2 separate regions of the Homo sapiens genome follow, and region 1 is linked to region 2. The links are contacts of gene promoters, found by promoter capture Hi-C in blood cells and fetal thymus (Javierre and others, 2016). All regions are on one chromosome and are shown on one strand. The core of a region is centred on a gene start or on the middle of the fragment in contact, and the rest is flanking DNA. Distances in the headings are between cores, read along the strand shown.

What was found. Contacts are between HindIII fragments. The CHiCAGO score rates a contact against its expected background, and 5 or more counts as called.
Region 1: a fragment that was not itself captured here is called in contact with the fragment with the promoter of DEF6 in region 2 in 2 of 17 cell types (total CD8 T cells and total CD4 T cells); the score reaches 6.2 in total CD8 T cells.

Annotation. Positions count from the first base shown.
Region 1 is chr6:35,738,269-35,740,972 of GRCh38, forward strand. It overlaps ARMC12 (armadillo repeat containing 12), which reads left to right. Exons shown (of 6, transcript NM_001286574.2): 3 at 116-250. Among named protein-coding and RNA genes, the nearest start is that of ARMC12, 2.6 kb to the left of the region's middle. RefSeq lists enhancers at 1-261, 870-1,478, 1,479-2,086. The HindIII fragment of the contact is 2,315 bases long and covers 211-2,525 here.
Region 2 is chr6:35,296,411-35,299,121 of GRCh38, forward strand. DEF6 (DEF6 guanine nucleotide exchange factor) reads left to right here and starts at 1,408. Exons shown (of 11, transcript NM_022047.4): 1 at 1,408-1,542. The coding sequence starts at 1,447. The HindIII fragment of the contact is 28,623 bases long and covers 1-2,711 here.

The DNA.
Region 1 (2,704 bases), core at 118-2,617, 440 kb after region 2:
TCTCTGGCTGATAGCGGTGGGGGGGGGGTGTGCGGAGGGATCTTGGTGACATGGGGGGCAGTGGGCCCAGAACACCCGCTTCTCCTGCCTCTTCCATCTCTCCCCAATACTCCAGGCCTCTGCTTGTACTACGGATGACATCGTGTTGCTGGGCTACATGCTGGATGACAAGGACAACAGTGTCAAAACCCAAGCTCTGAATACACTTAAAGCTTTCTCTGGCATCAGAAAATTCAGGCTCAAAATCCAGGTGAGCCCAGGGATGCGTGGTGGGGCATGCAGGATGTCTATAGTCCTTAAGTCCTTTAATTGCCATAGGATAAATGGTCATGTTCCAGAAGTTTGTTTGGGTGTGAATTTGTAACCCAGAAATAAGTGGGAAAACGGTGGTCAGATTCCCAGCAGGGTCATGAAGGCCTTTGAATTTCAGGATGAAACTGAATTGAGGCACTAGTGGTATCTCTCAACCCCAAAGAGAAGGACCCCCACTACCCCACAAGCTCCCTACCACTGCCACGTTTTTTCTGACACCAATTCCCAACACTGGCTGGGTGTTCAACAATTCAATTCAGTTCAGACACTATCCATAGTTAGGGCAGACTTCACAGGTTAAGGGCTGAGTCCCCCAAGACTTCCCCCCGACTTCAGGTACCAATCATAGGTCTGACTTCTGACTGGCCCGCTATGAATTCGGGGGTTCCCACAACTCCCTTTTTAGATCTACTAATTTGCTAGAATGGCTCCCAGAACTCAGGAAAGGACTTTACTTACTATTACTGGTTTTTTATATAAAGGACACAACTCAGGAACAGCTAAACGGAGGAGACACATAGGGCAGGGTGTCAGGGCGCGGAGCTTCCAGGCCTGTTCCTGGACCAAACTGAGGGCTGGGCTGCTATTGCTCCTGGCCCAATAACGAGATGCAGATGAACTGGGGAGGAAGAGAGTTTTTATTTCTGTAACCGGTTACAGGGAGAAGGCCAGGAAATTATCGCTGGACCAACTCAAAATTACAAAGTTTTTCAGAACTTATATACCTTCTAAGCTATATGTCTATGTGTAAATGTGCATTCATCTAAAGACGTGATTAACTTCTTTTAATTTATAACTAAGGTCTGAGTCCTGAAGACCTTCCACTGGAGCCTCAGTAAATTTACTTAATCTAAATGGGTCCAGGTGCTGGGGTGATTACCCTTATTTTGTCTCTTGCTAAATCAAGGAGTTTTGAGGAATTCCTTCAGATCCCAATAAACTTGTTTGTGGAGACCTGTGGCGTTTCTTCAGATCCACAGTAAAACTTGTTTAATCCTAAATGGGTCCCATTAAGAATTCCTTCGTAATTTTGTCATGCTTTAAGGCCCAGGAAAGGCCTAGGCAAAACTCCTGGTGGGCTTTTGTTACATTCCAGCCTTTGTATAAGGGCACTGGCTTTTAACATTTAACTTAACCACGCAGTCAGTACTGAAACAGTTGTTATGGAGGCCTGCCACAAGCTCACTTCAGGAGTGCCCTGCTGTTCCCAGCACCTCCACACGTTCAGCAACCAGGAAGCTCTTTGAACCCCATTGGTCAGAGGTTTTTATTATGTAGTCTTGATGAATTAAATCATGTCCAGCTGCTCACCCCTCCCCAGAAGTTGGGAGCAAAACTGAAAATCCCAACCTTCTAATCATGCTTTGGTCTTTCTGGCAACCAGAAGCTATCCAAGGACCCTGCCTGGAGTCACTTCATTAGCATAAGCTCTGTTGTGACCAAAAAGGGTTGGTTTGCAGTAACAAAGGACACTGCTGTCACTCAGGAAATTCCAAAGGTTTCAGGAGCTCTGTTCCTGGAACTAGGGACAAAGATCAGATGTATTTTTTATACTCTATCCCCTGGGCCTGTGTTAATCAGAGGTTGGTGTCATGGCCACGGATAACTTCTCCATTACTCCATAGACAAAATGTAAAACACCACATGTCACTTCCCCCTTTCCCTGCTATCATACCCCCAAACTTACAGTATCCACACCCATCCTCCCTGCTTTCCTGCTGCTGCCATGAAAAAAATGGCTTTCTCCTGGTCTGTGGCCAGTGATAGTCTCAATCCTGCCTCCCACCCCTTCCTTAAGGGCCTCTCTGATTGCTTACGCTCCGCTCCCCCATCAGCATGCAGTAGGCTCCAACCCCTCCCATCTTACAAAGCAAAACCAAAAAAGCCTCTCCCTTGACCTCCACATCTCTTCCTGGCAAATAGTCTATCTCTCCCAAATTAAAAACAAATAAAATATGTAAAACTTGCAAATATTGTATATGTGTAAGTTAGAAGGAATAACAATAAAACAGAACATGCCCAGGCCAAGAAATAGAGCACAGCCCCCTCCCACATCTTGGCTGCCTCCCCCACCAGAGGCAGTCATTACCCTGCATTTTGTTTAGCAGTTCCAAATTTTCTTTGTAGTTTTACCATATATGTATGTATCCTTGCATATTCTAGCAGGGCATAGCAGATAATAAAGAGGTAAAATATAGTCTGGTATGTTTTTAAGCTTCATGTACATGGAAGTAGATGGTTTCTATTCTGTGGTTGGCCTTTTCTCCCTGCTACGTGGAGAGATTCATCCTTATTGGGCAGCTCTGCTTCCTTCTGGTTTTTTTTTTTTTTTTTTTTGAGACAGGGTCTCGTTCTGTCGCCCAGGCTGGAGTGCAGTGGCGTGATCTTGGCT
Region 2 (2,711 bases), core at 158-2,657:
GCCAAGGTTACTGAGATTCAAGGAGCAGAGTCTGATGCCTCTGGAGCTGAAGTCTTGGCTCTATTACCCAGCTCTGGGGGTGCCCACCTAGGTGCCTAGGACTGTGCTGTGGGATTTCAAAGCCACAATCAGACCCCACTGAAAAGTGAGTTGGTGAGACCAGATCAGCTCCAGGGGGAAGAAGGGATACAGGGGAAGGCACTTGATGGGAAGAAGCTCTGGGTTTGACTCTGCCTACACAGGAACATTGCAGGGATTGGTGGTGCCTCTTTTCCTCTCTCTGCTGTGATGGATATGCCCCAACCCCTTCCTGCCTCCTAGGATTGGAACCCCCTCCTCTGATCCAGGCATCCTCTCCCAGGATGCCTAGAAAGCTCCCATTTACTCTTGCCACCAGCTCCTTGGGAAGAGAGGGGCGGGGGCGTGCTTCCAGGCAGGAGGTATTCCCAGCACCTTACTTGGAGGGATTTTTATTTGGCTTAGGGGGTAGGGGGAGGTGTCTTAGAATTGGCCTGAGCAGATGTCTTCAACATCTGTGACCACCATTCCTGGTGTGGGCGTGTCCCAGTCCTTTTGGACACTGGATCTGAAGAAAGGAAGCACTGACATGGAGGGCCCTGAATCCCAAGCCTGCTGCTGCTGGGACCCTTAAAGTTGAGGTGCACCACAAGGCTCACCCCCATGTGTTTCAGGAAGTTTCCAGTGTCTTCAGGGCTACTGGGGCTAGAGTGGGCAGTGCTCTGAGTACCGTTTAGAGCCAGTGCTGAGGGGATAGGGAGCCAGCAAGTCAAGTGCCACATCCTGACCTGGAGAGGTGCCCTGGCCCATTTCCTTCTCCAGCTTTGTGATGTTGCCTTTGTTTCCTTCCACTTGGATGGAGTCCCACCACCATGGTAATGTTAAGTAGCACCAAAAGCTCTACCCAGAGCCTACTATGTGCTTTACGTCCATTCTCAGACATTCTTACAACACGGAGGCATTTTTCCTGCTTTACAAATGAGGAAACTGCTCAAGGAGGTTAAGTAACTTACCCAAGGCCTCCTATGTTGAACTAGGACTGGACCTTTACTCTGTCTGACCCCAATATCAGGATGAGCTTGCTTTTTCCCTCAGCAAGCTGCGTCTGGGAGCCCTGGAAGGCTCCAGAAGCCTCCGGGTCTGAGGAGGCTTCTAAAAGGGCCTCACATGCCCCGGGAGCCACGTGGATACAGAACGAGGGTTCCCGCTCTCGGAGAGTTGGTCCCCAGTTCCCATGCAGGGAGTGGAGCCTCTGAGCACTGCCAGAACAACAGGCAGGGTTCTCGACAGCACAGAGCCTCACGCAATGTGCAGGCAGGTGGTGCTCTCGCTCCACCACGGCACCTCTGCGGTCTCTGCAGCCGTTTGCATTTCCTGAAACCGGATCTTAGTGTCAGAGCCGCCCCCAGCCGGGCGGGCGCCTCAGCCATGGCCCTGCGCAAGGAACTGCTCAAGTCCATCTGGTACGCCTTTACCGCGCTGGACGTGGAGAAGAGTGGCAAAGTCTCCAAGTCCCAGCTCAAGGTGAGGGGCACCCGGGACCCGGGGGAGGACGGCAGATGCACCACACCAGCCCCTGCCGCCTGGGAGCCAGGTGTGGACACTGTGCCACTCCAGGGGCACCCAGCCATCCAGCGTCCCGGGCCTGGGGTCGGGGGGCTGGTCCTGGGTAACTGGGCCAACGTAGCCTGGTAGATGCCGCTGCCCACCCTCCAGAGACCTAGTGAAGTGTGTGCAGAAACCTTGCGCAGAACTGGGCCCCACAACTGGAGGCCAGGAGGTTCTGAGGGCCATTATGGGGTTCTGAGGGCCAGGAGCCAGGCCACATCCCAGACTCTGTGTGATGAGCACACACACCTCCACAGAGTCATGCTTGGGCACGCAGTGTGCTCTTTCTTGCTGCTTCCTCCTGACTTTCAAGAGAAACAGTTAGCCAGTGCTTGGCAGTCATTTCCTCTGGAGCTGAGAGAGGCATAAAGGGGCCGCCCCCAGTCCCAAACCTGTCTGGCCTGTCTAACCCTGCCCGCCAGGTGGGACAGAGCTGCGGAGTGGGTGAGGACTGAGGACCCTATTATACTGCTACGCAGCTCACCCCCCTATCCACCACACATATCAGGTTGGGAAACTTACCTTAGGCCTTGAGACCTCAGGTAGGGAAGGGGGAGAATCTAAGCCCAGGAAAATCCCAATCAATGATTGTCCTGAAGTCAATCATCTGGCCTAGACAATTTCTGGGAGGCCAAGGAGTTTTTCTCTCTCTTCCTCTAGTCCTCCAGTAGTGCTGCCTTCCCTACCCTAGTTAGTGGGGAGGAAGCAAGGCCCTCAGCCACTAGAATCAGCGAACACTGGGGGAAAGGAGCAAGGTAGGCCTCAGCTCTCTAGGACCTGCCATAGGGGTGCCTTCGTTCACTCTGCAAGTACTTGAGTGCCCCTCGTGAGGCTCTGTGCCTGGCATGTGGCTAGGCACTAAACTGGTGTCTCCCTGCCCCATCCTCCAAAGGAGACGTGTGGTCTCAAGGAAACCTCCATTCTTAATGACCGAGGTAGAGGGTGCTGGATACCTGAGAGATGAATGGGACAGAACAGTTATTGTGCCCCACCACCGTTCCAACCCCCTACTTTACTGAACTTGGATGTGAGGAACTTGAATATCCCAAACTGGTCCTATGTTAAATTCCTTACCTGGATTTGTG